Regions from separate parts of the Homo sapiens genome. Here all the other regions are linked to region 2. Evidence: promoter capture Hi-C in 16 types of primary human blood cells and fetal thymus (Javierre and others, 2016). All regions are on one chromosome and are shown on one strand. Each heading gives the region's core, a stretch centred on a gene start or on the middle of the fragment in contact. The rest is flanking DNA. Distances are from core to core; before and after follow the strand shown. Region 1 has its middle 7.6 kb from the start of GOPC. Region 2 holds the start of ROS1 (ROS proto-oncogene 1, receptor tyrosine kinase). Region 3 has its middle 27 kb from the start of GOPC. Region 4 has its middle 46 kb from the start of GOPC.

The links. The method cuts DNA at HindIII sites, captures the fragments that hold promoters and counts their contacts. A CHiCAGO score of 5 or more calls a contact.
Region 1: a fragment that was not itself captured here is called in contact with the fragment with the promoter of ROS1 in region 2 in 1 of 17 cell types (endothelial precursors); the score reaches 5.4 in endothelial precursors.
Region 3: a fragment that was not itself captured here is called in contact with the fragment with the promoter of ROS1 in region 2 in 1 of 17 cell types (endothelial precursors); the score reaches 6.5 in endothelial precursors.
Region 4: a contact is called between a fragment that was not itself captured here and the fragment with the promoter of ROS1 in region 2, in 3 of 17 cell types (activated CD4 T cells, naive CD4 T cells and total CD8 T cells). The highest score is 5.5, in activated CD4 T cells.

The regions. Positions count from the first base shown.
Region 1 is chr6:117,606,882-117,613,314 of GRCh38, forward strand. It overlaps the pseudogene NEPNP. Among named protein-coding and RNA genes, the nearest start is that of GOPC, 7.6 kb to the left of the region's middle. The HindIII fragment of the contact is 5,386 bases long and covers 1-4,059 here.
Region 2 is chr6:117,421,799-117,427,769 of GRCh38, forward strand. It overlaps ROS1 (ROS proto-oncogene 1, receptor tyrosine kinase), which reads right to left and starts at 4,144. Exons shown (of 44, transcript NM_001378902.1): 1 at 3,736-4,144. The coding sequence starts at 3,858. The HindIII fragment of the contact is 564 bases long and covers 4,052-4,615 here.
Region 3 is chr6:117,626,337-117,632,498 of GRCh38, forward strand. It overlaps the pseudogene NEPNP. Among named protein-coding and RNA genes, the nearest start is that of GOPC, 27 kb to the left of the region's middle. The HindIII fragment of the contact is 973 bases long and covers 4,391-5,363 here.
Region 4 is chr6:117,553,509-117,559,896 of GRCh38, forward strand. It overlaps a transcript of DCBLD1 not described here. Among named protein-coding and RNA genes, the nearest start is that of GOPC, 46 kb to the right of the region's middle. RefSeq lists an enhancer at 4,770-4,819. The HindIII fragment of the contact is 1,432 bases long and covers 3,607-5,038 here.

The DNA.
Region 1 (6,433 bases), core at 117-2,616, 180 kb after region 2:
GGATTCTTTTGCTTATTCCATTGTTAAAATTTACTAGATACTATGTTTTGTATAGTATATTCAACCTAAAACCAAAACATAATAAATTTTACACTATCAAAGACAGACTATAACTGCTTTTCCCCTTTTCCCCGATGTACATTCTTCATCTACCACTTCCCACAGCTCCAGGTTTGCTTCAGCCTTGTCTGAAACCACCATTTATCAACAGTAGTATCAGAGTTTCCTACTCATGTTTTCTTCTTCTTTTGTCCACTGTGAAGTCACTGTTTATTTCTCAAGTGTCAGACTGTATGGATCAAACATAGACTTTCCTTCATCACCTTCTGTTTTTTTTTTTATAAATTAGTCTACTAAGGGCCTCCGAAACAGTTGTATTCCAAATACCCTTCAACAATAATTATTTTTTCGAGTTTTGACTGAAAAGTATAAGTTATCTAATTAGAAATTTCAGCTGGGTGCCATGGCTCATGCCTGTAATCCCAGCACTTTGGGAGGTCGAGGCAGGCAGATCACCTGAGGTCAGGAGTTCGAGACCACCCTAGGCAACGTGGTGAAACCCCGTCTCTACTAAAAATACAAAAGTGAGCCAGGCGTGGTGGCACTCACCTGTAATCCCAGCTACTCAGGAGGCTGAGGCATGAGAATCACTTGAACCTGGGAGGCAGAGGTTGCAGGGAGCCGAGATTGCACCATTGCACTCCAGCCTGGGCAATGAGAGCGAAACTCCGTCTCAAAAAAAAGAAAAAAAAAAGGAAAAAGAAAAAGAAACTAAAAGTCAGAAAAGTGTAGTGAAACTATTACACAAAAAGCTCTATCACAACAATTGCTGGAGATAGTATTTGTTTTGTCCCCAGATGATTGTAACTCACTCAGAATTTGTTTGGCTTTTGTGGCCATGGTGAGCAGAGGGAGTTAGGATGAAAAGACTTCTATAGTGAAAATTTGTCACTACATGTGGGATACTCTCCATATTTGAGCTCCCTTCCTCTAGGGAATTTCCCATTTTATGTTACTTGGTGAGAGAGAGAATTCTTCTTCCATAATAAGCTGAAAATGTCAGATGATCACTTTCCTGACTCTGTGACAGGTAGAGCACAGGGCTGTGACCTAGACTCAGCTAACTAGAATTATCCACCTGAAATTTTTAACATGGAGATAGTGAGGCAGGATTGGGAGCATTCCTTTTGGTAGGGATTGGAGAGGGAGTGAAGATAGCAGTTTCAGCAGCAGCCATGCTAGTGTTGGTGTTGTGCTAGATTCAGGTTTGTGGTAGAGGCTGGTGCACTCGTGTTCTGTAGTGGCAGCAGGAATGGTGTCCTCACTCAACTGAGGTGCAATTTTGCAATTTTGCTTGTGATTCTGACTATGCAGCCTTCCTTTATTCTTGGCCATTTCCAATTCACATTCTCCAGGCATTCTTATACTTCATTGTGCTACCCAATTTTCTTTCAGTAATTCTTTTTCTGCTTTAATTGGCCAGAATTTGTTTCTGTTGCTTGCAATCCATAACTTAAACTGATACGCCAACTATCATTTGTTGAGATCCTACTTTTTGCCCATCAACTTGATAAACTTTAGTTTGCTTCATCTATTCCTTTCTCTAAAGTGGAAATTATTTCCCCCATTTTATCTTGTAGAAGAACAAACATGAGGCTTAGAGAAGTTAAGTAGTAGAAGAATTTAATTTTCTGTGTTACTTTCAACGTATGCTCTTTATGCAACGTGCTTCAGAAGGAGAAAATATATTTAAAAAGAATCATATACATAATTTGTTTAATCTTTAAAATGTCTTTTATCAGAGACAGGGGTTTTCAATTTTTTTTTTTTTTTTTTTTTTTTTTTTTTTGAGACGGAGTCTCACTGTCCTCCAGGCTGGAGTGCAGTGGCGCCATCTCGGCTCACTGCAAGCTCCGCCTCCCGGGTTCACGCCATTCTCCTGCCTCAGCCTCCCGAGTAGCTGGGACTACAGGCGCCCGCCAACACGCCCGGCTAATTTTTCGCATTTTTAGTAGAGACGGGGTTTCACAGTGTTAGCCGGGATGGTCTCGATCTCCTGACCTCGTGATCCGCCTGCCTCGGCGTCCCAAAGTGCTGGGATTACAGGCGTGAGCCACCGCGCCCGGCCAGGGGTTTTCATTTTTTAGAAGTCTTCTGTTTAGCTCCTGGCCAATCGGTTTTATTGCAGGAATAATGAGCTGATGCTTGTAATTCCAGATCAGGGAAAATTTGAGTTAGTTCGTTTCCTTTTTGGAATTCAGTTTCCTGTGTACAATGGAAAAATGTGGTGTTGATTAGATTATCTCTAAAGTTCCTTCCAGTGCTGACATCCTATGAAAGTAATAAAAATGATCCACACATCAAAAACAAAGTTAAATACTCCTTTTTTTTTTTTTTTTTTTTTGAGACTGAGTCTCACTGTGTCACCCAGGCTGGAGTGTAGTGGCACAATCTCGACTCACTGCAACTTCTGCCTCCCGGGTTCAAGCGATTCTCCTTGCCTCAGCCTCCTGAGTAGCTGGGATTACAGGTGTGCGCCACCAGGCTCGGCTAATTGTATTTTTAGCAGAGACAGGGCTTCGCCATGTTGGCCAGACTGGTCTCAAAATCCTGATGGCAGGTAATCTGCCTGCCTCGGCCTCCCCAAGTGCTGGGATTACAGGCGTGAGTACCTGGCGCTGCCAAATTCTCCTCCTAACTACAACAGAAGTTTCCGCATATTTATTTATCCTGGTATGATATGCCTTCTATGGTCATTACTCTCAAAATACTACATGCAAGATATTAGGTAACTTCAGAGTTTAGGCCAATTATTTCTTGCCCTTTGCTTTTAATAAATCAGGGAAGGCCAGTATCCATCTCATAGAGGTACACATTTGTTATGTACAGCAGCATTTTTAATGACGGCACTATGGACAGTTTGGACTCCATAATTCTTCATTGTGGGGGCTATCCTGTGCATTGTAGCCCCCACAGTGAAGCAGCATCCCTGGCCATTACCCACTAGAGGCCGATAACACTGCCCCTCTCCCCCGTATTTTGATGATAATCAAAAATAATGTTTCCAGTGGAGAACATGGTGGCACCCCTGTAGTCTCAGTTGCTCTGAAGGAGTGAAGTTGGGGAGGTGGAGGTTGCAGTGAGACAAGATTACATCACTGCATTGCAGCCTGGGTAACACAGAGTCTATCTCAAATAAAACAAAATAGAAAAGTTTCCAGAGAGAGAGGGAAAATAAGGATAAAGAAAGCAAGAGAGGGATATCCCAGCTACTTGGGAGGCTGAAGCATGAGAATGGCTTGAACCAGGGAGGCAGAGGTTGCAGTGAGCCAAGATTGTGTCACTGCACTCCAGTCTGGGCAAATAGAGTGAGACTCCATCTCAAAAAAAGAAAACTAAAAAAAATAAAATGAGAGGGAGTATCCAGCCTAGAGAATCTGAACAAACAATCTACTCCAATCCAAATTCAAATACAAAGCATATTTCTTGAGATTGCTATCTTTCTTGTGTTGAAAGACTAAAGCTAGATTCTGAGCTCTATTTTGAACACAGTTGCTGGGTGTGTCGTTGAGTTGCCATACTTGAGAGGCACCCTTGTTCCTTCACTTGGTTCCCTCTTACCCAAAGGAGTCAAGTAATAACAATCATGTAAGGTGTTGTTAAAATCTTTGGAAAAAAGTACTGCATGCTTCACACTTAGCCTTAAGCTCCAGAGATAAAAACACGAGAGCTTTATACTTGTGGTCCTTAGTCAATGTGTGAAAACTCCAAAAGTCGGCAGAAAGTGAACTAGAAGCTGAGCAATGGTGGCAGCTCCTGTATTCCTCCTAGCATAATAAAGATGAGACAGGCTTGCCATCTCTAGAAGAGGAACAACAAAACATGTATGTCCTTCAAGCATAAAGGCTGTACCTTTGTTTTATATTTTCTCTGCAGTCTGTAAGTATCAACAAGACTTTGCCTGCTATCAAAAAAAAAAAAATTGACTTTTCAGCTTAACCTAAATAAATAGGTATGTTCTGGGAAAAGACAGATCTTTTATTCTTCAAAACATTCTGAAGCTTTTTATGATCAAAGTTATTTACATTTATAATGCTAAAATCAAAAAACAACTTAAAACTCCACTAGTTAGAAAGTAGTTAAATTATAGACAGTACTTTTGATGGACTATTATTTAGACATTTAAGTTTTTATTTATAGAAACTGAAATAATATGCAAAAATATAATAGTGAAAAGAATAAAATGTAAAGTTATGAGTATGTTTACAAACATGAGAAAATAAAACTTCACAGTGTAAAATATTATAAATAATGCTAGAATTGCAGTAAAGGTATAGAAATGCCATGAAAAAGAAGAAAAAAATTATATAGTGTAATTTCAAGGCTCAAAGAAAAAGGAATCCTATGGTCACCAACAAAGGATGAAGAATGGAACTCATCACTGTGCTGCATAACAGAAAAATTTGCTGTTATCAATGGCAGATGAGAGGACAGGATTTTGCAGGCATTTTATTTCAAGTAACTGGATATGTATTTACCTTTATAGTAATGCAGAAACATGTGCAATAAGTATTACTCTTTGTCTTTTCAAAGCCTAAGCATAGAAAAGAAGAAACTGGAAATGTGATGTTTGACTTTGGGATGTGACTCAAGGTGACAATTCTTCCCTCCTTGCTGTTTTTTTTTTTTTTTTTTTTTTTTTTTTTCCAAATTTTCTTTCATTGAGCATTACTTTGATTGCTAGAAATTCTAAAAATCAAAAAGAAATTCTATTACTCAACAAAAGAAACAACAAAGTGTTCTGAAAGTCAGAATAGTTACCAAAATCTCTTTACCATTCCTTATCTGTGATAGTTAAAGAAAACAGAGGAAAAACAATTATTAAAAAGAATACAAGTCTTTGGAGAAAAGCACACAGAAATCCTTACTCTGGAAATAAAATAAATTGATTATTTGATCAAAGAAACTTTTAGCTTCCGTGAAAGGAAAATATCCTGGGCCCCCAAAATCACTAAACTAAAGGTAAAAGCCAAGCTGAGAACTACTTAGGGCAAACCTGCCTCCCATTCTATTCAAAGTCACCCCTCTGCTCACTAAGATAAATGCCTATCTGATTGCCTCCTTCGGAGAGGATAATCAGAAACTCAAAAGAATGCAACCATTTGTCTCTTATCTACCTATGACCTGGAAGCCCCCTCCCTGCTTCAAGTTGTCCCACCTTTCCAGACCAAACCAATGTTCATCTTACATATGTCGATTGATGGCTCATATCTTCCTAAAATGTATAAAACCAAACTGTGCTCTAACCACCTTAGGCACATGTCATCAGGACCTCCTGAGGCTGCGTCATGGGCGTGTGTCCTCAACCTTGGCAAAATAAACTTTCTAAATTAACTGAGACCTGTCTCAGAATTTGGGGGTTCACATTTTGGTAACCAAGGAGGGATTCTGAGTGTAGGTGTCCCTCACCTTTGACAAATCTCCTATGGGTGCTTGGTACCAGCTTCAGCAATCTTTATGACTCAAACCAATAGAACAATTTGCTGAGGCCTGGAAGCATCCCCTCCAGAGAATCCCTGATCTCCCAAAATTTGGTTGAGAACTAGTTTATTTTGCTGTACAACTTTTTTTTTTTTTTGGAGTTTTACTTGTTTCCAACACAAGGAAGGCAAGTTTTTCTGCTTCCACTACGATGGTAGGCAGTGTTATATATAAAGTTTTGGTGCCGCAAAAGAAATAGCACTCGAATGTAAAATTTTCGTTTAATTCTCAGCAAGGCAAGGTACTTCTATAGAAGGGTGCACCCTTACAGTTGGAGCAATGGTGAGCGCACACCTGGACAAGGGAGGGGAAGGGGTTCTTATCCCTGATGCACGTGGCCCCTGCTGTTGTGTCGTTCCCCTATTGGCTAGGGTTAGACAGCACTGGCTAAGCTAATTCTGATTGGCTGGCTAATTTAAAGAGAATGAGGGAGTGAGTGCTTTGGTGGGAGTCAGGGCAGAGCTGGTAGCAGGTAATTGGAATGAGTTAGGGTGGAGCAGGTGATTGGAATGAGTTAGGGTGGAGCAGGTGATCAAAATGAGTCAGGGTGGAGTAGGTAATCGAAAAATGTTGCTTTACAAGGAAGTTAAATTTAAAAGTAGAAGGCAAAGAATTGAACATACTGACATATTAATTATTTGAAAAGAAATTTAGAACTCATATCTAACAGCAGGTAACTCCTTTGGGGAGTTTGAGCTTGCTTCCAACGGGAAGAAGAAGTTTTCTTTCCCTGCTTCTAGGAAGGTAGAGAGCAGTCTTCAGCTTGAGACCCAATCCTAGATAAGTAAGTGAATTGTGGTTTGTCTTGGCTAAAGTTAAGATTAACAACCAGCTGGTCTTAATTTCTCCTTACCATTAGAGCGCTCAGTAACTATATAAGTTGTGTGATCAT
Region 2 (5,971 bases), core at 2,894-5,393:
GCTTTGCAGTTATTGTATACTGTTGTCATAACAGTTTAAGTTTCTAAGTAGTCAAATTTATTGATAATTTCTTTTTAGGGAGTCTAAATTTTTTAATTAGGCTTCTTAAGGCATTTCTACTTCAAGATTACAGAAACAGTCACCCCAATTTCTTCTAATATTTTTATGAAGTAAACACTTGCTTTGTTTTGTTTATTTGTCTGTTTGCATTTAAGTAAACCTTTCTGTTTTTGTTTCTTAGAAACAGAGTCACCCAGGCTGGAGCACAGTGGTGTAATCACAGCTGACAGCATCCTCGACCTCCCTGCTCAATCAATCCTCCCACCTCAGCCTCCTAAGTAGCTGGGACTACAGGTGCATGCCACCACGCCTAGCTAATTTTTGTATTTGTTGTAGAGACAGGAGTCTCACCATGTTGCCCAGGCTGGTCTCAAACTCCTGGGCTGAAGGGAACTGTCCGCCTCAGCCTCCCATAGTGCTGGAATTACAGGCATGAGCCATCGCACTTAACCAAAAGTCATACCTTTTTACAAAATATATCCTGAAATTTATTTGAATCTGGCAGTTATGTAGGAATTTTTTATGCTACATGGATAGCAACTCATTGGTTTGAATTGTCATCTTTATCATATTTCACATTCTTTATGTACATGGTTTTATTTCTTGATTGTATTCTGTTTTACTCACAGGTTTATTCCTGTAGCAATAAAAACTATGCTAATTTGTAAATATTTTATAAAATTTCTGAATTATGATCTTATTATATTATTTTGTTTTAATGTTATATATTGATATACAAGACAATTTTTCATGTCTGTACATTAATTTTTTAAAAATCTTCCAAATCCTATTATTTCTAATAGTCTTTCAGTTGATTTTCAGTTTATTTCTTTGGAACTTAAGATACAAATCAAAAATAAATGTATTGTCATCACCCTCTAATATTATAAAAGCACATCATGTTTGTAACAGCCTTTAACTGTCTAGTGATAGAAACCTTGATATCTCAGTATTTGATAACTTACTTTAGGGCATTGATTACATAATTCACTTCTTTTGTATTCCGAATTGCATCCACCACAGAGCTGAATATACATAGATACCTAGGAAAATTTATTGAATGGAATCCATTCAATAAATTGATATTGAATGAAATTTATTGAATGGAATTGATACTCCTGAGCCCTTCTCAATATTAGTTCCTCAGTTGTTGTGATTTGTTAATTCAAAAAAAAAAGGGGGTTTGTGATGTAATTCAGGAATGGAAAACCAAACATCGTATGTTCTCACTGATAAGTGGGAGCAAAACTATGAGAATGCAAAGGCATAAAAATGATACAATGGGCTTTGGGGACTTAGGGGAAAGAGTGGGAGCAGGGTGAGGGATAAAAGACTACAAATATGGTGTAGTGTATACATGGCTGATGGGTGCACCAAAATCTCACAGATCACCACTAAAGAATTTACTCATGTAACCAAATAGCACCTGTTCCCCCAATAACTTATGGAAACATTAAAAAAGGGTTTTGTTGCTAAAGATGGGAAAATTATGATTAAACAAAGCTTTTAACATGTTATTGTGCCCTGTGAATCTACAAAAAGAGGGCATAGCAAAATACACTTCCACAAATGATTCAACCGTGAATTCTTTTTTCTTTATCATAAAGGATCTCACAATACTAGAGTTCTGAAGAGCATTAATTGTTTGTTGTTTTCTGCAGCACATGGCTTCTAGAATTCAAAAAAACTTTTCAGTTAATACTTTCAACTAGTACATGCAGATCTCTGTTAACGTAAGATAAAAGTAATGTAAAATACCAATGCTCAAGCATAGAACTCTGCTTCGTGCAATTTGGCCCACAATTCTAACATTTTATTTTTGGACAAGACATTCTTGTGGTGACTTTTTTTTTTTAAGAAAACATTTCTCAATATCAAGAATCACCCAATAAAATTATAGATGACCTTCAGAGTAAATGTCCATGTTTTTAAAAATGATGCAGAAAATATAATAAACTTGAGCACTTTGTATATCCTCTCCTGTGAACCATGGTTACATTCAATTGTACATTCACTTCACTTTTGTCCCTCCAGGCCCTATGTGGGAACATGTAGTACTTTCACTGGTCAAATTGGCAGACCGTGTCTCTCTTGCTGTTGCCACACATCAGCTGTGCCATTCTCTGTAGGTGGTGAACGGAAGGCAACTCAACAAAGGAACAAACTGTCTATTCCTACTGCCAAACCCTGGAAGCAAGGAGCCCACACAAAAAGATAAGAATAAATAAAACGACAGTAAAATAAAATGGAGACTGCAATATTGGAAACAACTAAAATCAGTTTCAGTAGCAGGGAAATTAACAAATAAATTATGGTGGTACATTCATATAATGGAATACTCTAAAGATAATAAAGATTCTGTTTCTAAAAAAATCTCAGGGTCTAGGGGAAAACTCACAATACAATGTAATGAAAAAGCTGGTTGCATAGCTGGGTGTAAATTATAGATATATATGTATACATATATATATATGAGGAAAAATACTAAAAGAAAATTCAATCAAAAGATTACTAGGGCTAGAATTAGAAGTTTTTTATTCTTCTGTAGTTCTCTATGTTATAAATATTTTATTTAAAATGTATACTCTTATTATAATTAGAAAAAAGTTAAAATCTTTTTTAGAACATTTAGTTTTCCATTCAGTAGTTGAAACATTTAGTAGTTCCATTCTTCCATTTTTAAGTTTGGGTTACAAATATAAAAAACTAAAGCATGCAATTCTATATTAAAGGCAATGAAGTCTTCGGCAAAGATTTATATAAAATACTAAACTTTTAAAAAAATGCTACTAACCATGGTAAACCTAAGTAGTGTTTTAAACTACAGTTTAAATCAAAAGTGTATAAGTGCAAGTTTCTTTTTAATCTGCCACATAATTCTATCTCCAATACTTTAGAATAATATAATGAATACTATATTTAGTACTTGCATTATGTTTAAAAGTATGGCTATAGATAGGGTCATATGCAAACTATCATGATATTTTATTTGTCTTTAGACAGGAAGAGTGCATTTTCTCTGTCTATAGAGTACTTGGTTTTTAAAGTTAATTCAGTGACTGTTTTAAGCACAACTAAATTACAACTGAAAAGAGATGGTACAATAGTTAGAGAAGGGATGACACCCAGAAATGAGAATGAAAGCATGAATTTCCATATAAAAAACTCACTAACTAAAATAATAAATGCACAAACAGAAATAAAGAAATGTACAAATAATTATTGCTTTAAAATATTATTTTACATGGCAACTGTATCTGCTTCCTTTTTCATCCAGCTCCCTACACAGCTGGAATTAGCAGGCATTATCCTGTGGCCAAACCGATTTCAGGTTTCAAGACAACTACTAATGACTTTGTAATAAATAAGTTTAAATAGAAAGTTTTTAAGTGTGCAAAATTGGCAAAATTGATTCCATTTAAACCTCCTTTACCCAGTCCTCTAGCCCAAAAAATATATGACCACATACCCTAAAGAAATAAAATAGCCTGCTTTATCTTCTGCAATTATAAGGGCTCCTAACTTATTTAAGAAAAAATAATCTATCTTGCCTTGTTGCCACCACTTCTCATAAGAAAACTCCTCATAAAGAGAAAACAATTCTATCAGTTATAACAAGCTGAATGCTACATGTTCTAGTTCCTGCAAAGACAAATATTAGATTGTGAGACTTACCAGATTAGTTACACACGACTTTAGGCAGCTATTTAAAACTGTACACTGCACCACAGAAATCCATAGGCAGCCAAGAGTTGCAAAATTGACAAGCTTCGGAATAAGACAGTAAATGTTCTTCATCACTTCACCAATGGCAGATTTTTAGATGGCCGGTCTAATTTTCTCCATTTTGCTATATGAATTATTTGGGCTTCATCACTTCAATTGGAGGAGTAGCTGATGGATTTTGCTTTGTTTGTTTTGCTATATTAGGATATACTTGCCTTTTGAAATAATACTTAGCCTTTTTCATTTAGACCTTTGAATGCTTGAAAGCTTGTAACAGTTCCATAAGAGCTATTTCATAACAGCTTCCTTTTACTCCCATAAAGTCACCCAGTGACTAAAGGTTAGTTCTTAGAAGTGCACTTCACATGGAAATTAAAGAAAACGAATTGTATTTCAGCAAGGGTGTGACACATGCAGTCTGAAACTGGAACATTTCAGTGGGTCGTCCACCACCTTACTTCTCTGAGCTCTTTTCAGCTCTGCAGGGAATTGGGTTTTGACCACGTATGCTTTAGCAAACAGTAGCACTATTATAATAAAGAATTATTGGAAAAATAGAGGCACCCAAATCAAGCAATGCAACTGAGAGAGAAAACAGAACTCAGAAGCCAAATACATATTTTTAAATTTAAGAGCAAACAAAGCTGAAATTAATAGACAAATACCCTGGGAGAGAGTTAAAAACAAGGAAGTTGGTTAGAGTACTCTCAGAACTTTACTACATATTAACTAAAATACTGACTTATCAGGTCTATCGAGACAGCTGAAACTAGTTACCAGAAACCTAAGATATGTTCAAGTGTCTGCTTTGAGAAGGAAACATTGTACAAGCTTCCTTCCTGCCTGCCTTCCTTCCTCTCTCTCTCTCTCTCTCTTTCTTTGAGACTGAATTTCTGTCTGTCGCCCAGGCTACAGTGCAGTGGCATGATCCCAGCTCACTGCAACCTCCGCCTCCCAGGTTCAAGCGATTCTCCTGCCTCAGCCTCCCGAGTAGCTGAGACTACAGACGCCCGCCACCATGCCCAGCTAATTTTTGTATTTTTAGTAGAGATGGGGTTTCACCATGTTGCCCAGAGTGGTCTCGATCTCTTGACCTCGTGATCCGCCCACCTCGGCCTCCAAAAGTGCTAGGATTACAGGCGTGAGCCACCGCGGTACAACAGGCCAACCTCCTTGTTTTCTTAAATAAATTATACTAAATGTAACTTAACCTTTTCTTAATGATATAAGGTTCTCCCTATGAGTAACACATGCATGAGGTTTTGTTTTGAGCTGAACGTCTTTTGATTGGATTTTTGTTTGTTTGTTTTTTAATTTTTGTGGGTACATAGTAGGTGTATGTATTTATGGGGTACAGGAGATGTTTTGAAACAGACATGCCATGTGAAATGAGCACATCATGAAGAATGGGGTGTCCATCCCCTCAAGCATTTATCCACTGAGTTGCAAACAATCCAAGTATGTTCTAAGTCATTTTAATATGTACAGTTATTATTGACTGTAGTCACCCTGTTGTGCTATCAAATAGTAGGTCTTATTTATTCTTTCTACATTTTTTGTACCCATTAACTGTCCCCATCTCCCATCCCCCACCCCACCCACCACCACCCTTCCCAGCCTCTGGCAACCATCCTTATACTCTCTTTGTCCATGAATTCAATTGTTTTGATTTCTAGATCCCATAAATAAGTGAAAACATGCAATGCTTGCCTTTCTGTGCCTAGCTCAATTCACTTAACGTAATAATCTCCAGTTCCATCCATGTTGTTGGACGTGACTGAATATGGCTGAATAGTTCTCCATTGTGTATATGTACCACATTTTCTTTACCCATTCATCTGTTGATGCATACTTAGGTTGCTTCCAAATCTTAGCTATTGTAAACAGTGCTGCAATAAACATTCACATGCAGATATTTCTTTGATATACTGATTTTCTTTCTTTTAGGCATATACCCAGCAGTAGAATTCTAGATCATATGGTAGCTCAATTTTTAGTTTTTTGAGGAACTTCCAAACTGTTCTCCATAGTGGTTGTATTGATTTACATTCTCATCAAAAATATACAAGGGTTTCCTTTTCTCCACATTGCCACCAGCATTTGTTATAGCCTGTCTTTTGGACATAAGCCATTTTAACTGGGTAAGATGATATCCCATTGTAGTTTTGATTTGCATTTTTCTGAT
Region 3 (6,162 bases), core at 3,627-6,126, 210 kb after region 2:
CCAAAATAATTCCTATGCTATGATTATTGAGTTAGGTTTGCTTAGGAAAAACTGAGATTTAAAAAAAATTAATTAAGGTTATTAGATTCTTGAATCTTCCTGTCATCTCAGACCTGGTAGAAGATGCCAATCAAAATTAACTGCATTAAAGCCTCATCTTTAATTAACTGCATTAAAGCCTCAAAATTATCTGCGTTCCTGAAACACAGGGTCAGAAATTAAAGTTATTCAACTCCTCAAGGCCCAGGGACAATCATGGAAGAGGGGGGCATGTGAGATTGTAAGGGCCAATTTTGAGAGATAAAATAAGTTATTTCTCTATAAACTAATCATTAATGTCAAAGGCACACTGATGCAAGACCAGCATATGAGCCCCCATGTCAGATTAACAAGGTTTTCATAAAACATTAGATGACTCCTTAATAAAGGTTACAAAGGTTATAAAGACTTATGGAAGTTATAAATTAAAATCAAGATGAAATTTTATAGATTGTTTATAAAATTTTGGAAAACAAATTTAATTGGCTTCATGCTGTTTTATTAGGGCTTATTGTTTGGAAAATTAGTCTCTCTCAAAGAATGAATGTTTTTGCCTTTTTTTTAAAAAAATCCTTGAGTTATCACTTTGGTTAAATGAATGACTTATTTTACAATGACCTGTAATCCTATTTTGTAATATCGAGTGTTTTAAACCTTTGGTAATTGACAAACTTTCCAAAATCAAATTATAAATTTTGTATCTTTCTGACCTAATTAATCCTTTAAGATGTTATTAATAAGTTCCCTAAACTCCAAAAATAACATATTTCATTTATTTGGTATAAAAATTACACAGGAAGCATTGTCAAATATAAAATGGTGTTTGATTTTCTTTGGGTTGTATTTGATGACATATTTGGCTTATTTGGTATAAAAATTATACAGGAAGCATTGTCAAATATAAAATGGTGTTTGATTTTCTTTGGGCTGTATTTGTATAACTATGTTATTCGTATGTATTCTAAAATTATGAGAATTTCTATAATTTTGATGTGACTTAATGTATGTTATCAGTAATAATTATAATTGTTATGTTAAATTATTGTGTGCCACAAGAGGTAACAAATTTCCTTGTCAATTGTGTCTTTGAGTATGGCTGCCCTGAAACTTTTTGCCATCCATGGACAATTACTGTCTTGTTTTGGTCCTCTTTAGAAGATGGTTTTATAGTCCTCTATAAACTCTAACAGGTGCTCTTGAATGCAGGTTTCTGATAACTTTCAAGATTGTGACATCAGAATAGAGGAAAACTTTCAGGACCCATGGAGAGCTGAAATGTTCATGAATATCAAGCAGAATAGGAATTAACTTCATGGACTAAACTAGTAGAAGGCTGAAGTAATCTTTTTAAGTTTTGCTTAAAACATTGGTGATCCTTTGTTTTGCTTTTCAGAGTCAACAACTTGTAAGCTATTTACAAATTTTAACAATTGAATAAAGTATACTCCTATGAACAAAATTTGGAGCATATTTTTTTCTCTCTACCTTATTTCTACAGAATATGGAAACTATTTGTGAGGATTCTTATCTTGTGACAATACAATTAGTAGCATAAGTGCAATAAGAATCTGTTTTCATTTGTAACAGGACACAGTTGGAGAACTGGTTATTTTACCAAGGCTTTTACTGGAATGGTGTGTTTTCCATTTAGGAATCAAACTTATTGAGCCAATAAAACTCCTTGGAAAAACTGTCTGCTTACCTTTGTCTACACAGTTCCTGTACAGGGTTCCTGACCTGTGGTAAGTAAGGAATGTACTTTCTGACAAGTCCAGGACCCCAGGTTTATCTTGGAACCTCAAGAGGAGAGGAATTCACCCAACTCATAGGTATTTAATGGTATAAATACATGACTGGGCTTGGCTTATTCCTTCTATGGAATAAAGTTCCATCAAGACCAATTTAAGAGCCTATGTAGGCCAGGCATGGTGGCTCATGCCCTTAACCCCAGCACTTTGGGAGGGTGAGGTGGGTGGATCACTTGAGGTCAGGAGTTTAACACCAGCCTGGCCAACATGGTGAAACCCTGTCTTTACTAAAAATACAAAAAAAAATTAGCCAGGTGTAATCCCAGCTACTTAGGAAGCTGAGGCAGGAGAATCACTTGAACCCAGGAAATGGAGGCTGTGGTGAGCCAAGATCACACCACTGCACTCCAGCCTGGGTGACAGTGTGAGACTGCATTTCAAAAGAAAAAAAAGTTATGTACAAATTAATTATTCTTGCTGCACTGTATACAAATAATTAGGCCAAATATAATAAAGCAAATTAGTCCTACTATGGTTTCTCTTTAGTAAAAATGGGAAACGGGAGAGAGAAAAATTAGGTTCCAAAAACTGTAGTACACCTGTTGTTAGATTCTAGTCTTGCCTAATGCTTTTCAATTTTTATTATTTTCTACAGTTTGGATCAAATTCTAATTTTTCTTGGCTAGAAGACTTTAAAATAATGTTTTCATTTTTTTACCTTTTTTCCCATTTTTCCTAATTCAGAGTCACTGACAACTAAGCTGTGCTTTCATAAAGCCCTGCAAACTGAAGCTAGACAGCTTAAACTTCAGAAGAAAATAACAGCTGCCTTAATATTTGTAGGCCCCTTCCAGATGGAAGGCCCCTTCCAGATGGAAAATTCTATGGCTCTCTAATTTTCCCTTTACTATTCACTGCTTCTCCCTCAAAGATCCAAATCCTAAGACAAAGAAATGCCTCTCTGTGAGCCAGGTGCAGAGAGGCAGCAGGTGAGTGTACCTTACCTTCAAACAGAGACACCATCCCTTTAATTTGGTTAAGAAATGTTCATATGAGTGTCCCATAAACACATAGAGTTTTGAATATGTGGCATGGTATTTAGATCCTGGCTCAATAAACACAGTTGTCTTGTCTCCATCTGTTTGCTTTCCTCTTCTAACCCTGTAGTGTCTAACACCAGATAGCAAGTCTGACACCATTAAGTGTAAATGTTCAAGCAAGACACCTGGTTAAAGGGTAAGCTACTTAAATATTTGCTCTGAGGACTTGACATGCTTATTGAGCAGAAGGTGAACTAATCCTAGTAATGATTATACAATGGTACTTTGTAGCCAATAAGATAAAATTATGCCCCTTATTAAATTCAGTTATTGGATGAGTCAATTTGTCATTGGTTTAGTTTCACTGAATAGCAGCATTGCCACTTCCCTGACTTTAAGCTAGGTAATTATTTCTTGGAAGGACTGTTCACAACAGAAACGTAATAAAAGACAGGATTGTTTTGTTAAGGAAAAGGAAAGCTCTTTTTGTTGATGAAAGTTCTGACCAATGATACTTCTCTTTTAAAAATACTTAGGTCTTAAGTGACCATGTCTCACTTGCATAGGTTTTAAGTGACCATATCTCACTTGCATTTGGTAAATACAATGTACATTCTATTTATTGGGTTTGAATTTACAGAATCATTCAATATCTTCCAAAACTTCGGTAGAGTGTTGGGTTGCATACTCAATTCCTGCCATCCTCATTCTCAATGAATAGCTGGCCTCCCATTTTATTGACAAATCATGACAAAACTTGATCTCCCTCAGTCCCTGCTCACTGTGTACAAATTTGTCTCCATCCACTTTTGCAAACTCTTTTCTCCGGAGAGGACATGTCTCTCCTTGTATTCAAGGCCCTTGATTCTATCCTTCACACTTCTCTCCAGACCTTGCTCTCTAACTTTCTGCACCCCCATATATTCAGCTGCTCTTTCTTTACTAGCTGCTCTTTACCTGCCTTGGCCTCCAGAGTGCTGGGATTACAGGCTTGAGCTATTACACCTGACTTAATTTATCTATTTTTCTTTTGTCACTCATGCATTTGGTGTCATATCTAAGCCAGCTTTACCTAATCCAAGTTCATGAAAATGTAATGCCTATATTTTATTCTAAGATTTTTACAGTTTTAGTTTGTACATTTAGGTCTATGATCCATTTTGAGTTAATTTTTGGGTATGGCATAAGAAAGGAATTCAGCTTTATTCTTTTGTTCCCCTCTGTCCTGTTCTGTTGCTATTCACTAACTTGGACTTCAGTCTCAAGCCATGATGAACTGCTTAACTGTGTTGAGTGAAAGACACAACGAATAGCTGATTACATGTGATACCAAATGGACAATATGCTAGGTGACCCAAGTCATTTCTATTTAGAGGATTGTAGTTTTGGTTCGTACTTTGTGTCCACATGTGTAAAAAATCATTAAGTTTACTTCACTATTGCCATTCAAATGGATAAGCCAAAGTGATATATTCTCTTCAGAGGTAGAAGACAAATGGGAATGTAGTTATGGTAGCAGTCAGTTAAAATGATAGTACTTTACATCTTTTGTGGAAGACAAGAAGCTTCTTCAAATTCTTCCTAAGAAATACATAAACAATACATAAACTGAATGGGGGGATAATGGGTTATTTTATATTCTCTCTACATTTTCCAGAATTTAAAAATTGTTTGTAGAGAAAAAATGTTGTTTGATGATCAGGAAAAAAATCCAACATTGTTTTACAAACTCATTCCTGGCTTGTTTCACACAGGTCTGAAACCATCGCTTTGTGTGTATGTCAGTTTCGTTGTACATTGGATCTATCAGGAGCCAGAAAAGGGTGTGTTCCCTTTACTACTTGGAGCAGGGTCTGCCTAGGATTGAAACCAGAAACAAAGCCTTTCCTGGAGAAGCTAGCAGGAGCTATCCTGTGCTCTACTTCATTTTACTGGCCTTGCTTTTTAAGCAATATTGGAAAAGCTGCCAGTAGCCCCAAGGTTAGCTCTAGGGCAAAAGCATCTCTTTCCACATATCTTGTGTGAAGCCCTGCTTAAGCCATGGAAATGGAAAAATGGGTCTGGCATAATTTTTTTCCCTTTGTCAGCTCTGCAAACCCAACTGAAAAGTTGAAAGTCAGCAGGAGTCTTCCTCATTGTTATGTGGCACCATAATTCTATTTTCTTCAGCTAAAGGATGTTATAGCTGTAAGGCTAAAAATATATGCACTGGGGTAAGATAAACCTGGGTTAGTAGCCCAACTTTTCCACTAGAAAAGGATATACTTGGACAGGTTATTCCACTTTCTTGAGCCTTAGTTTCCCTCTCTGAAAATGGAATAATTATGCTTATACATAGGGCTTTGTAAAAATTAAATATAGTAAATATTTCTAAAATTGTAGCCATTTTAATTAATAATTAAATGTAATCTCTATTGACCCTGACCAAAAAAAAAAAGAAGAAAATGCTTTCTATGCTTAATAATAGTGATTTAAGAATATGAAGTCTATTTAGCTCAGTCTGTATACTTCATAAATAGAAATCAAGACAAATTGAAGCTTTGACACCATCCCTTGTCCATTCCCAAAATAAATTGCCCATTCTGATCCATGTCATCTCTGAGACTTACTGCATAGTTAGTAATCATTTTTTGTTTATTGTCACTCAGATATAAGTTGAAATATAATACCCAGTTCTTTTTGGCGGATCTCAACAGTCCAAGACATAAAGATATATGTCTAGAGACATTTCTGACTTTATATAAAAGATAAGCCTACAAAAAGGCATTTCAGAATGAAGTGTAAAGAACACTGAGTCTTCAGCAGGTTATTTAACTTCTTGGGCCTGAAATTCTTTATTCCTGAAATGGGAGATTTAGATTAGTTAATCCCTAAAATCTCTGCTTTTTTAAAGCTCTGTGATTTGTGTCTAGATCTTGAGCCTCTTTTGAAAAACATTAATTACAGGCCAAATGCAATAGAAAATGCTTTAGAAAATGGTGTAGCTAAGGAAGAAAGGGGTTTGCAGTTCAATAGACCTTGCTGAAATTCTGAATTCTTTCACATTCTAGTTCTCCTAGTCTCCTCATCTAGAAGCCAGTGTTGATAATAGTAAAGTTGCTGGGTTATTAGGGGATTGGTGATATATAAAAAAGCACGTGGCACTCTTAGATACTCAATTAATGCAAGAATAAAATCTCTATCATTATTGGGACTAGGACTATTCAATATAACTGATAAATCATTAAGAAAATATAAAATGTTAGCAGCAATATGTAACCCAAGGCAACTGCCGAAACCATTATGATTAAAAATATTCATTTATGGAAATTTTAACTGGAGAGTCTCCTAATGGA
Region 4 (6,388 bases), core at 3,073-5,572, 130 kb after region 2:
CCAAGTATAAAGAATTCTCCCTTAATATACTAAGCCCTTCTAATTACCTATTGTCTTTCTTCGAACAGTGATCTCTTCTTGGAATTTTTGTCTGCCTTATTTCCATTCATTCTTTTTCTAATGTAGTTTTTAGTCAGTTATATAGGTACACAAAACGTAGTATCCCTTTCCATTTGTTCAAGCCCCTTTTGCATCCTTTCAGGGGATTTTAAAGGGTGCTCACATAAGTACTGCACATTTTTTGTTTAATTTGTACTTAGGTGTTTTTTTTGTTGTTGCTGCCATTGTAAATTGTCCCCACCTCCTCTTTTATGTATCAAGAACTAGTATGGCCTAGTGGTAAAAAGCATGGATTCTGGGGCTTAGACTCCCTGGGCTCAAATTCTGCCTTAGTTGTGACCAAGAAGGACTTACTTTCTATGACTCCATTTCCTTATTTCTAAATGGAGATAATAATGGTATATACCTTATAGGGTTGTGGTGAAGATTACAAGGATTAATGTACATAAAACCCTTACAACAGTGTCTGACCCATGATAAGTGCCACGTGGTGTTAGCTATTATATGCAGCCTTCCTGTTCGATTTCTGTGACTAATTTGTATGCTGCTCCTTTACTAAATGTCCTTATTATTCCTAGTAGCTTTTAGTTGATTCTCTTAGGTTTTTCTGGAATTTGATCACGTTTGCAAATAGTGCTAGTGCTATCTCCTTTCCAATATTTATGTGTACATTTAATTCTATTGGCAATACTTCCAGTACCATATTAAATACTTCTAGTAGCTCCCACCTTAGCATGATGCTGGCTTTTAGGCAGAGATAGATTTATTATGTTGAGGTAAACTTTATTATGTTAAGAAAGCATCTATTTATTCCTTTTTTTCCCCCTCACAAGGAATGTGCTTAATTTTGAGCAAAGTCTTTTCAGCATCTATGGAAAATATGATTTTCCTCCATAGGACTCCTCCCTAGAGCCAGTCAGATGATTAATTACATAATTAGATGTCCCAATGTTAAACATCTGGTTATAGATATGAATCCATTACTGTATTAAATTTGCATGGATAGGATTTTACTTAGGATTTTTACATTAATATTCATTTGTGGGCCAGGTGCAGTGGCTCATGCCTGTAATCCCAGCACTTTGGGAGGCTGAGGCGGGCGGATCATGAGGTCAAGAGATCGAGACTGTCCTGGCCAACATGGTGAAACCCTGTCTCTACTAAAAATATAAAAATTGGCCGGGAGTGGTGGCTTGTGCCTGTAGTCCCAGCTACTCGGCAGGCTGAGGCAGGAGAATCGCTTGAACCTGGGAGGCGGAGGTTGCAGTGAGCCGAGATCGAGTCACTGCACTCCAGCCTGGCAACAGAGCGAGACTCAGTTGCAAAAAAAAAAAAAAAATCTTTTGTGAATCAGGGCTTTTCTTTCTTTGTGGCAATCTTGATCAGATATTATTAGCTTGACAGAAACAATTTAGAATTTTTCTTCCCTTTTTTGGTTCTCTTGCTAGGCATTAGAATTAGCTGTTGTTTGAACGTTTAGTAGCATTGCCCTGTGAAATCATGTATTTTGGTAATTTGTGGGGAGAGCACTTTGACAATTCCTTCAATTTTTCCTATGGAAATTGGTTTGTTTAGATTTTAAAACTTCCTTGGGAACAGTTTTGGTAAATTACATTTTCCTAGAAAAGTTTTCAAATTTATTCCTATAGAATTGAACAAAGTAGTCCATTATTATCCTTTTAGTTTTCTCTTTTATGGGTATTTCTCTCTTATTTCTTGTTTTGTATATTTGCATTTACTCCCTTTTTTCATGACTAGTTTAGTCAGCAGTTTGCCTTTTTCCTCTGAAAAATCAGGGTTTTTTTTTGTAGTTCTCCTGTTTCAGAAGCCAACAACCCATTTGTTACTGCCTTAGGCAGAGGTTAAAAATGCCCTCAACCATGGTGAACATGACAGTAGAGGGCACCTAGTGAGCATGACACATCCTCAAATGTCACAAAAGGACACAAATATCCTTGTTGCAGTATTGCTTCCTAAAGAATATGGGGACAGTATGCACACAAGCAAGAAATAACTTATTCCGTATTTGGTGGGGGCAGGGGAATGCTATAGTCTTGACGATCTAGAATTCTACTATGTAACTCTAGGAGTTCTCTCATTCTATAGTCACTCCACTACAGCCAAACAGTTTCTTGTGAAATTCAAACCCAGCACAATCATCATTTTTAGAAATCAAAACTGTATCAAGCCAAGGGTCCATCAAACCGTGCACCTTTTAAGAAAACTTTAGAAAAATTCTACTGCAGTTGGCAAGCATGGAAAAAATAAAAATAATTGTTGGAATAGGAGGACTGAAAGCTGACAATTTTATCTATATTTCCCCTTTCCTTCTTTGTGGCCTATTAAAGTAGAATTAAGAGAGGGATTTGAGTCTTGGCTCAGACACTTAACTAGCTGTGTGACCCTGGAAAAATCAGCCTTCAATTTATTGATCTTCACAGGAGTATTTTATTTGATGAGTTTCAAAAAGCCTTACACCGCTAATAAAAGTAAAATTAATAATGCATCTGGAATCTGCTGCCCCCTGCTGGCAATTTACCAAATTGCAAATTCTACCTTTCCAACGCATAGACTCCAAGTTTTAGTGTCGGCCTATATTTTATCTAATTTTCCTTGTTATAGTCCATTACCTATCTTCCTTTTTTAAAATATATTTTTATCTTTATAGGTTTAGGGGGTAGAAGTGCAGGTTTTGTACATGCATATATTGCGTAGTGGTGGAGTTTGGGCTTTTAGTGTAACCATCACCTGAATACTGAACATTATACCCAATAGGTAATTTTTCAACCCTCACCCACCTCCCACCTTCCTATCTTCTGTAGTCTCCAACGTCTATTATTCCACTCTATATATGTCCATGTGTACCCTTTATTTAGCTCCCACTTATAAGTGAGAACATGTGGTAGTAAACTTTGTTTCTGAGTTAGTTCACTTAAGATAATGGTCTTCAGTTCCATCCATGTTGCTGCAAGACATGATTTCATTCCTTTTTTCATGGCTGAATAGTATTCAATGGTATATATTTACCACATTTTCTTTATCCAGTCATCCATTGATGGACACTTAGGTTGATTCCATACATATCTTTGCTATTGTGAATAGTGCTGTGATAAACATACGAGTGCCAGTATCTTTTCAATATAATTTCTTTCTTTCTTTGGGTATATGCCCAGTAGTGGGGTTGCTGGATCAAATGGTAGTTCTATTTTTAGTTCTTTGAGAAATCTCTATACTGTTTTCCGTAAAGGTTGTACTAATTTACATTCCCACCAACGGTGTAAGTGCTCCCTTTACTCTGTAGCCTCCCCAACATCTGTTTCTTGACTTTTTAATAATGGCCATTCTGATTGGTGTAAGATGATATCTCATTGTGGTTTTAATTTGCATTTCTCTGATTAGTGATGTTGAACTTTTTTTTTCATGTTTATCATCCACTTGTATGTTTTCTTTTGAAAAATCTCTGTTTTTTGCTCACTTTTTATCTTCTTACTTAGACGCCAGAGGTATTTCTTTTACAACCAAATGCCCTCTTAAAACTTTAAATCAAGCTTGTTGTTCAAATCTTCCTTCTTTCCTAATTTGCCTGAAAGTTTTGTTGCAATCTCCCACTATGATGATAGATTTAACATTGTAGTAAATTGGTTCTTTAAGAATTTAAGTAACCTTTATCCCTAATGGTTTTTTTCTTAAAGTCTGTTTTTAAAAAATATAACTGTATCCATGTTCTTTTGGAGAAAATATGCCCAGTGTATATTCTTTCTCCTTTCACTTTCAAATTTTTTATGTCCTTATGTTTTAGGTATGTTCCTTTTAAACAACATATTGCTGGATTTTTTCCAATTTAAATAAAATGTTTTCTAATTTCAGTTCTTTCTTTTAATAAGTTTACACCCTGATCAAGCACTCTCAAAAGTCAATTCCAGACTGGGCACGGTGGCCAGTCTAATCCCAGCACTTTGGGAGGCGGATGGATCACCTGAGGTCAGAAAGTTCAAGACCAGCCTGGCCAACATGGTGAAACCCCGTCTCTACTAAAAATACAAAAATTAGCCAGGCGTGGTGGCACGCACCTGTAATCCCAGCTACTTGTGAGGCTGAGGCAGAGGAATCACTTAAACCCAGGAGATGGAAGTTGCAGTGAGCCAAGATTGCACCATTGCACTCCAGCCTGGGCAACAAGAGTGAAACTCCGTCTCAAAAAAAATAAAAATAAAAAATATAAAATTCAGTTCTAGGAGTACTCCTTTGGTTTTTGCCAGAATGTGCTAGCTAATTCTTACACTTTTTGTGTAGTTTCTTTTCTCCTTTATCAGGCCCAGCACATCTCCCATCCTGGCTTTACTAGGATTTAGCCCTAGTTACAGGCCTGGCAGCAGACTAGGTAGGGGCAGGTATTGCCTTAGGGATGTGGTTAGTAGCAGCCTCTGTAACATCTTGGAGCATAGACAAGGTACAAGGTCTTATTAGAGAAGCGTGGGCTTCTTCTTAAGACCAACAGTCCAGTAGAGATTGCAAAGTCTCTCAGGTGCAGCCATCCAGATCTCCCCATGGTTCTAGGTTTTCCTCACCAGGGCCTTGACTTTCACAAAATAGAAGAGGTTTCGCTGAACATTCAAGTGTCTGAAACTCAGCAACTCTTAACACTTAGGTGTTCAGCCTGAAGCTCAGCTGTTTCAATCCCTCCATTGTAGGAGGTAAGGCCTCCTTGGGAGCTGCCCCCCTCCATCCATTTCTGTAGGTCATTAATACAATCCTGCTGTAACCGGCCAACTCTGCTATTCTTGTAGATGTTGTTCTCCCACATTTTTCAAATGTCTGCATCACTGACCCTCCTGGAGAGTTCCCCTCTCCATAAGCTGGATTTTTTCCAATTTAATAATTTTTTCCAATTTAAATAAAATGTTTTCCAATTTCAGTCCCAAGTCTCCAAAACTCTCCCCAAGTTGAGTGGTTTGCTAGGACTCATCAGACTAAGCAAAGCTTTATTCACAATTATGATTTATTACAGAGAATATAAAGCAAAATGAGGAAAGGGAAAAGGCATATGGGCACAGTCCCAAGAAAATCAGGTACAAGCTCCAAGATTCATTTCCCAATGGAGTCACACAGGACATGCTTAATTCCTCTAGCAATAATGTGTAACAATACATCAAGTGTTGTCCACCTAGGAAGCTTGCCTGACTGAACCTAGGAGTCAAGGTTTTAGGGAAGTCAGTGTAGGTACCCTCTGCCTAGCATGTACCAAAATTCTAGATTCCCAGAGGAAAGTAAGTGTTCAACAAAAATCCTACTGTTTGTACAAACACTTCAGGCACAGTAAACCGCACTTACCAGCAAGGGGATAATGGGAATACTCCTGATATCCAAATTGCTGGACGCTAGCCAAGGTCCAACCTTGCAAGCAGACCTAAAGACAACAGGTTCAGGCCTGTTCTGTTAACTCTTTTCTGCACACCATTTGTGAAATAGCCACTGAGCCATGATTTTGTGCCAACGACTAGATAAACTATACTCACCAACCAGATGTCACTGTCTTTACCCTTTGGGTGGGTTCCTAATGCCCATCTTATTACCTGTTTCCTCAAATCTCACTCATGGTCACTTGTGTTAATCTAGCCTCTCTAAGAAGCAGACGCCAACACCAAAAAGGGATCTGCTGTGCAACAGATTTATTAACGGCAATGCCAGTGAGGAAAAATAGGTAGGAAGCTGGAGTTGATTGGAGGCTGGAAGGCAATGAGATCACAATGGAGTTAAGACCCAAGGTGAATGAAAGGAGGAAGGAAGGTTGGGTGAAAGCAACTTGGACTACAATGTAATCCTAAGGGAGTTTGGCAAGACCATCGTGGAGTGCTCCAGCTAAAGTTGAGGAGTCATCATATAATATCCCTGTCATAATCAGTCACTGACTGGCAGCAGCATGGAGGAGCATAGCCTCACCATGTACACAGGGATGGATTTCAGACCACAGCAGCTGGACCTTCAGTAAGCTATGCTCCCTCCTGCACGAGAACTGACAGATGCATTCTCATGGCTGCTGCCGTGGTGATTATAGCTCTCAAATCACACCTGAAAAAGGTTCATTATTGAACAAATATTCAGCACCAACAGTGCACGGTAATTTGCAATACTTTTAAAGTGTTTCTTTAAGGTTAGTTATAAAACCACCTAAAATAAAATACTGATTAACAATGAAAATACAAGTTCTCTTTAAAATTTCATAAACTGACCAAAAAAAAATTCATAAATTGACCAATATCCTATGGGGTTGTATTCTGGGGAAAAGACTTCTTTTCAAATCACTTGGTGAATTGGGAGCTTAAATCAA